3 separate regions of the Homo sapiens genome follow, and all the other regions are linked to region 3. Evidence: promoter capture Hi-C in 16 types of primary human blood cells and fetal thymus (Javierre and others, 2016). All regions are on one chromosome and are shown on one strand. Each heading gives the region's core, a stretch centred on a gene start or on the middle of the fragment in contact. The rest is flanking DNA. Distances are from core to core; before and after follow the strand shown.

Region 1 (2,700 bases), core at 28-2,527, 660 kb before region 3:
GAGGACACTGAAAATGGGTTTTGGTTGGGTGTGGCTAGGGAAGAGATGGGTGGAAACTAAACTGAGAGTGACTTGCCATAGATGTCTTTCTCAAGCCCTGGTGGGGGTGGAGGTCAGTCTCTTTTAGACCTGCTGACCTTCTTTCTTTTATTGGAGAATGTGGGTTGAGGGTGGAAACTAAACTGAGAGTGACTTGCCATAGATGTCTTTCTCAAGCCCTGGTGGGGGTGGAGGTCAGTCTCTTTTAGACCTGCTGACCTTCTTTCTTTTATTGGAGAATGTGGGTTGAGGGTGGAACAAGGGTGAGTGGCTAGTTTTTTTTTTTTTTTGAGATGTAGTCTCACTCTGTTGCCCAGGCTGGAGTGCAGTGGCGCAATCTTGGCTCACTGCAACCTCTGCCTCTCAGGTTCAAGTGATTCTCCTGCCTCAGTCTCCCGAGTAGCTGGGACTACAGGCGCGCTACCATGCCTGACTAATTTTTGTATTTTTAGTAGAGACGGGGTTTCACCATGATGGCCAGGCTTATCTTGAACTCCTGACCTCAGGTGATCTGCCTGCCTTGGCCTCCCAAAGTGCTGGGATTACAGGCGTCAGCCACTGTGCCCAGCCGAGTGGCTAGTTTCTTATAGATGTTGGAATGTTCCCACCTTGGACCTCCTTCCTTGAGGGCCAGCCCTTGGCTCCAAGACAGGCAGTTTGTCCCCTCCAGGTAGCTTTATTTTAGGGAGGGGATATCCCTAGGTTCTTGGGACCAAGATAATTTTTTAAAGTTATGTTTTTTATTTATATGAAATGGATTATATTGTGTATCTTGGAGATCTTTCATGTCATCACGTATATTCTTTTAATAGAACTCTATGAAATGGGTAATTTATTTAACTAGTTATCTTTTTTTTTTTTTGAGACGAAATCTTGCTCTGTCGCCTAGGCTGGAGTGCAGTGGCACGATCTCCGCTCACTGCAACCTCCGCCTCCTGGGCTCAAGCAATTCTCTTACCTCAGCCTTCTGAGTAGCTGTGCCTTTGACTGTTTTAGTAGAAACCCTGTCTCTACTAAAAATACAAAAATTAGCCGGGTGTGGTGGTGTGATGATATAATGATTTTTAAAAAAACTATGTGCATGTATTCGAGTTTTTAAATAAACAACAAAATGATAAAACAGTGGAAGAGGGATCTGCCAAAATGTTCAGCAGCCCATCACACAGACACTGGCCCTTCCCAGTTCCCTGCAACATGATCCTGGAGTCATGGATGTTTCTGGGTTGGCCACTGCGAGGTTCATGCCAGCCACTCTTTTTCAGATCAGGCAACATTGACATGTCTACTGTACTGAAAAGAGATAAATGTTCTGAACCAGGTAGAAACCAGAATTTCACATGCCAGGATGAAAACAAGGGGGAGAAGGCACAGACACTCAGCAGTGGTCGGGTGCAGTGGCTCACGCCTGTAATCCCAACATTTTCGGAGGCCAAGGCAGGCAGATCACTTGAGGTCAGGAGTTCAAGACCAGCCTGACCAACATGGTGAAACCCCGTCTCTACTAAAAATACAAAAATTAGCCAGGCTTGGTGGTGCACGCCTGTAATCCCAGCTACTCAGGAGGCTGAGGCAGGAGAATTGCTTGAACCTGGGAGGTGGAAGTTCCAAGTGAGCCGAGATCCTGCCATTGCACTCCAGCCCGGGCGACAAGAGCGAAACTCCATCTCAAAAAAAAAAAAAAAAAAAAAAATCATCAGTATGGTAGAACTTTCAATGAAAAACAACAGTCTGGGAATCCTCTCATATTGCAGAATGATGTTCTGTCAGGGTGGAGAGTGGGACTGGAGAGACAGGTGTGAGCCCCAGGCACAGCTCAGGCTGAGCAATGGGAGAGCTGCTCCTTGCAGACCTTTCCTCCTCGTCTGGAGGCTCACCCTTTCCAGAGGGAGCTGCTGACCTGCTTACAGGTAGCAACGTCGAGAGAGATAGAGAGATAGATAGATGTATAGAGAGATAGAGATGGAGATGAGAGAGAGATAGAGATGAGAGAGAGTGCTGAAGGGTTAAATTTGAAAGCTGGCGGTTAAAGGCTGAGCTGGGGCCAAATTCCCACCCCCAGGTCTTTCTGGGCAGCTTTCTCTACTGTTGGACCCTGAACTAAAGAAGCCATTAGAACCTTTCCTTCCTCAGGGTTTAAGTCCATTTCAGCCTTGGTCCTGGGGTGGAAATGACCCAGGAGCAGGTCTCAGTGGACCGTGATCCTACTCTCTCACCTTGCACCCCGAAATTAGCCTCTGACCAGGTTGAAAAGCCACCCTTCTCCCCCGCCCTGCTCCTCAGCTTCCTCATCGTGGGCAGGAATGTCTGGGGCTCCAGTGTAGGCTGAGAAAGACTTGTTCTTTGACCAGAACCACGCAGCTCCTCCCTTCTCCACCCTGCTTCTTGACCATCTGGTTGTAGAAATCTCAGACTCCATATGTGCCCTTGGCCCCAGCAATACCATGGGCCCCTGCAGCCTCCACTGCTCCCGTGGGGGCATGATGTTATTGGTAAGGCGTGTAAGTGGGGTGAGGAAGGCAGGAGGCCCAGAGCGTATCCTGGCAGTGGGTTGCTCTTGAGTTGGGAGAGGTGTCTTTCCTTTCATATACAAGTTAAGCCTTCTCCTCAAGGGATTGTGTGGAGAAGCCCAGCTTCCCACAGATTCAGCAATATAAACAAAGA
Region 2 (2,759 bases), core at 57-2,556, 560 kb before region 3:
CACCCTGAATACACCAGAACTTGAGAAGCAGAGAAACCCCCTGGGCTCATAGAATTGAGAGAAGCAGTGACAGGTAAGAGAAATGGTCATTTCAGCCTGTTCCACCCTCTCTCCCAGGCCATAATAATACCACTCACAGAGAACTTCCCTAGACCCACAGTTGCTGAGATGAGAAGAAGGAATTGGAGGTGGATATTTGATCTTCCCACTTGTCTAGGAATCTTAATGGTAAGTCCACTCCAGTTTCATCCCACTAGAGAACCAAGAGGGCTGAAAAACCTGGGGTGAATTGGGGACAAAGAGTAGGTCACTGATTGCAGCAACTGGCATGTGGATCTTGGTGATTGTTCAGTGCTTTGATCAGTGGGGATGCCATATTGAAGAGACTGGTGGGGGGGCCAGAGTATTGTAGGGGACAAAATTTATGGGAAGGCCCAAATCCACAAAGCCCAGGTGCACATGTGAAGCTTTTCCCTGGCCCAGAAACAACTAAAAGGTCAAGATTTTCAGTACCCACCTAAGTTTTTCCCACACTGAGAAACAATAGTAGGGCAGCAATATTGTTCCAGGGCATTTAAGCTGTGGTGCTCACTATAAGTTTTCCTTACACTGGGAAACAATGACAGGGCAATGAGTTAGGTCCAGTGCAATGTTTTAGTTCTGATGCTCACTATTAAGCCCTCTCTACAGTGTAAAGCAACAACAGGCCAGTGTTTAAGTTCTAATACTAAGAAGTAAAGGTCTAACACCATGAAAGAGCACCTGCAAAAGCTGGAAGAGTTGGCAGTCGCCTCAAATATGCAGGCATCCATGTAAAGATACAAGGCTTGTGAAAACTCAGAAATATTCAATACCATCAAAAGAAATCAACAAAGCTCCAGGAATGGTCCCAGAAGAATTGAAGATTTATAGAAACAATGAAAAAAAAAACCAAGCAATAGAAATAGAAATACTAGTAATAAAGAATAAAATAATTGAACTGAAAAACTCATTATAAAGCTTCAACAGCAGACTTGAGCAAACAGAGGAATTAGCAAGCTTGAAGACAGAACATTTGAAATCACCAATCAGAGGAACAAAAAGAGAAAAAAAAGAATGAAGAAGGTCTACAAGAACTATGGGACATCATCAGGCAAATTAACCTCTGCATAATTAGAATTCCTAGAGAAGACAAGAGAGAAAGGGCCCACAAAGCATATTTAAAGAAATAATGGCTGAAAATTTCCCAAATCTGGAGAAAGATGACAGCATCCAGGTGCAGGAAGCTCAGAAGTCACCAATGAAATTCAACCCAAACAGGAAATCCACAAGGCATATAATAATAAAATTATCAAAAATCAAAGACAGAAAGAATACTCAAAGTAGCAAGAAAAAAGAAACATATTACATTAGATGAAGCCTCAATATGGCTTTCATAGAAACCCTGATGACCAGATGACAGTGAGATGTTATATTCAAAGTGCTGAAGGAAAAACCTGCTAACCCTCAAAAATCTACCCTTCAAACATGAAGGAGAGATTAGAGACTTTCCCAAACAAGCAAAAGCTGAGAGAATTCACCAACACTAAGCTTGTCTTATAAAAAATGCTAAAAGGACTGTTTCATGTGAGGGCCATATGTGCAAAGTGTCCCCCAAATGCTGAAGGAGCCAAGAAACCAAAAAAACAACCAGAGAAATCCAGTTTGTCAGTAAAGTGTGTTTTTACTAGAAGAACTTACAGACAGCTATCCTATGTTCACGGACTGGAAGAATCAAAATTGGCAAAATGTCCATACTATCCAAAGTGATGTACAGATTCAATGCAATCCATATTAACATTCTAATGTCATTCTTCACAGAAACAGAAAGAAATAATCTGAAGCTTCACATGGAACCACTGGAAACCCAGAATAGCCAAAGACAAATTTACCAAAAAGAAAAAGATAGAGGTATCACACTGCTGGATTTCAAAATGTATTACAAAGGTATAGTAATAAAAACAGCATGCTATTGGCATAAAAACAGACACAGCAACTGATGGAATAGGTTAGAGATTTCAGAAATAAGCCCATACGTTTATGGTCAATTGATTTTCAACAAGGGCCCAAAGAACACACAATGGGGAAAGGACAGTACCTTCAATAATTGGTGTGGGCAAAACTATATCTATATGCAGAAGAATGAAAGTGGACCCTTATCTTACCTCTTATACTAGAATGAACTCAAAATGAATCATAGACTTAAATGTAAGACATGAAACCGTAAAAACTACTAGAAGAAAACATAGTGGGAAAGCTTCATGACATTGGTCTTGGCAGTGATTTATTGGATATGATCTCCCAAAGCACAAGCAACAAAAGCAAAAATAGGGGAATAATATTGTATTAAACTAAAAGCCTTCTGCCCAGCAAAGGAAACAACACAGTGAAGACATAACCCACATATTGGGAGAAACTATTTGGATGATAAATCAGATAAGGAGCCAATATCCAAAATATGTAAGAAACTCAAACTACTCAAAACAAGAAAACAACCCTATTTAAAAAATGGGCAGAGGACCTGAGTAGACATTTCTCAAAAGAAGACATACAAATGTCCAACAGATATATGAAAAAATGCTCAACATTTCTTATTTATTTATTTTTACTTGTTGCTGACAAAGCTCAGATCAACATTTTTAATCATCAGAGAAATGCGAATAAAAACCACAATGAAATATTACTTCACGCCTGGTAGATTGGCTATTATCAACAGTATGAAAGATAAATGTTGGCAAGTA
Region 3 (2,700 bases), core at 86-2,585:
GAGAAAGGAAAGAAAGAGAGGAAAGAAGGAAAGAAAGAAGAAAGAAATGAAAAAAGGAAAGAAAGAAAAAGAAAAAGAAAGAAAGAAAAGAAAAAAGAAAGAAAGAGGGAGGGAGGGGTGGAGGGAGGGAGGGGTGGAGGGAGGGAGGAAGGAAGGGCTCATATATTTGTCCTCCAAAATAAAGCTTCCAAGGAGGTGCCAGCATTCCAAAAGCAACATCAGATCATAGAAGACAGAGCCTCTCCTATCTTAATAGCTTAGAAGACAGCACGAGAGATTCACATTAAACCCAAGGAAGAACTTCCTGCTGCCAGGGCTGTCCTGGATTGGAATGGGTAAGTGAGACAAGCCCTGTAATATCACCCTCCTTTCTCAGGATCAGATGAGGTATTGACCTGCTTTTAAAACCCAGGAACTGAATGAGGGTGATGGGGAGGCCACAGTGGGAAGTCCCAGCTTAGTCAGGAATTAGCTGCGTGTCCTTGGGCCAGTCCCCTCTCATCTCTATCTCACAGTTTCCTCGTCTTTCAAATGAGAAGGCTGAGAGAATGTACTTCGATGGAGTTTCTGTTTAGGATGTCCCTTAGGATGCCAAGTCTCAGCTCCCTCTCTTCTACCAAATGCAGGAGGCAACATCAGAGATACGAAATCTAAGGTGGGGGTCCCTGGATGAGATGACATTTTTTTGCTCAGGATCCCTTAGGGCCAGAGAAGAGGTTCCAGTGGCCACACATCTGCTGTGACCAGCAAACTTAGCCAAGCCAAAAGCCATGCTCCCCCACCCTCAACAGCCAAGCCAGCCCCAGGAAGAGGGCAGTTCTATCAGAAGCCACTGGTGATCTCACCAAAGGCGGGGTGGTCTTTCTCCCATCCACAGGACCCAAGAGGAGAGGCCAGGGCTGGCCTCACTCATTATGCCAGCCTGGGCCAGCCTTCTTTGGCTGCAAGCTCTGGCCTAACCCTAATGCCTTCTCCCTTCCTAGGCATCCAGAACTCTGCAAACCCCCACTCCTTTGCTATTCAAAGCTGACCTCTACCCGCTGCCTAGACATCGCTGGGGCTTCAACATCTTTGAGAGCCAGGATAGCAAGCATCTGCCTCAACAACCTTCACCCTGTGTACAGATGAAAAAACTGAAGCCCAGAGAGACAAGACTTGCCCAAGATCACAGCCCAAGTCACCGATACAGGCAAGACTGGATCTGAGTCCCCCACATGCAGGATGTGCCGCCACCCTATCTTCAGCTATTGTGACAGCATCCCTTGCACTGAGTCCTCGGGCCCTCAGGGGGTGGGGCCAAGATGAAGCAGGCACGGTGTCACTCCACACCCCCTCTCTTTCCTCTCCTGACTAAGTTTCTCTGGCTTCCCTGAGGCTGCAGGTGTTAATCTGGGGGGCCCTGGGCCCTGAGCCGGCAGCAGAAATATGAGGACCCAGAGCCTTCTCCTCCTGGGGGCCCTCCTGGCTGTGGGGAGTCAGCTGCCTGCTGTCTTTGGCAGGAAGAAGGGAGGTGAGTGCGGGAAATCCCTCTGCTGGGGGGACCAGATTGTCTCTACTTCTCTAGGGAGAGTAAGGGTTTGGGGGAAGGCAGGTAATGCCCTGTGGGGTGTGTGTGCGCGTGTGTGTGTGCGTGCGTGCGTGTGTGTATGTGTGGATGCCTGATTCTTAGTGCTTTCAGAAGCCTGTGTTTTTATGTGTGTACATTTGTGCCTGTCCACCTGCCTGTGTTGGTATCTGTAAGTGTCTTTTCTGCCAGTTTCTCGGTGCTTGTCTGTGCCTGTCTATATGTCAGGGGGTGGCAGGGCGGGGAATGCATGTGCCTGTGTCTGTGTAGACATGTGTCTTTGCGTCTGCTTGTCTGTGCAAAGCTCTGTCTGCACACGTACACTTAGGAATGGCTGCACGCATGTGTCTGAGCTTGGTGCCTGTCCATGTGTGTCTCTGTGCCTTCAGGTGTGGGGAGGGACCCTGTCTGTGCCTGCTGGGCTGTGGTGTGACTGGGTCAGTGGGTCCACCACCCCATCTGTGGAAGGGACTTGGGAATTGAGGAGAGGGTGTGGCTTCTGGGATCTGGGCTTTGTGGGGAGGAAGCTCTGTCTCTAACTCTCATCGCCCCCAACCTCCTGTCCCCATTCCCACCCCTGACAAGGCTGGGGCTGGCCTGCTGACAGGTGAGGGAGGGCTGCTGAGTGGCTAGACAGGTGACTCCTGATCTGGGTGAGGCCTCCACCTGCGTCCTTTTCTGGGGCTGGAACACTCCAACCTACATTCACCTGTGCAACCCTTGCCCTGCCTTAAAGAAAGGGGACAGTAATGGGGACAGGCTGAGGAAGGAAGTACACTGGTGAGCTCCAAGGCTGGACCCTGTGTTGGCTGTGATTCATGCACCATCATCACGTAACTCCTCGACAAGGTGCTGTGAGGACAGGACTATTTTCATCCCCATTTTGCAGATGAGGAAAATTGAGGCATAGCGGGGAACCACTTAACAAGGTCAAAGACTGACTCTGAGTTAGTGCCAAATGTGGCATTTGAATGCAAGTATTTGAAATCAGAAAGATTCACCTTACCAACTATTACAGCAAAAACCCAGGACTGTACAGGACAATGCACCCCCAACATAGGAAGGAGCTGAGAGACCAGAGAATGACTTAGACAAGGCCAGATTAGCAAGTGCATGAGTGCAAGTATTTGAAATCA

The links. The method cuts DNA at HindIII sites, captures the fragments that hold promoters and counts their contacts. A CHiCAGO score of 5 or more calls a contact.
Region 1: a contact is called between a fragment that was not itself captured here and the fragment with the promoter of WFDC5 in region 3, in 3 of 17 cell types (total B cells, naive B cells and endothelial precursors). The highest score is 6.5, in total B cells.
Region 2: a contact is called between a fragment that was not itself captured here and the fragment with the promoter of WFDC5 in region 3, in 1 of 17 cell types (M1 macrophages). The highest score is 5.3, in M1 macrophages.

What each region holds. Positions count from the first base shown.
Region 1 is chr20:45,771,397-45,774,096 of GRCh38, reverse strand. No RefSeq gene overlaps it. Among named protein-coding and RNA genes, the nearest start is that of WFDC3, 19 kb to the left of the region's middle. RefSeq lists enhancers at 1,844-2,436, 2,437-2,700. The HindIII fragment of the contact is 3,130 bases long and covers 1-2,700 here.
Region 2 is chr20:45,676,351-45,679,109 of GRCh38, reverse strand. No RefSeq gene overlaps it. Among named protein-coding and RNA genes, the nearest start is that of WFDC11, 7.5 kb to the right of the region's middle. The HindIII fragment of the contact is 531 bases long and covers 1,041-1,571 here.
Region 3 is chr20:45,113,809-45,116,508 of GRCh38, reverse strand. It overlaps WFDC5 (WAP four-disulfide core domain 5), which reads left to right and starts at 1,335. Exons shown (of 4, transcript NM_145652.4): 1 at 1,335-1,510. The coding sequence starts at 1,426. RefSeq lists enhancers at 898-1,397, 1,398-1,899. The HindIII fragment of the contact is 2,929 bases long and covers 187-2,700 here.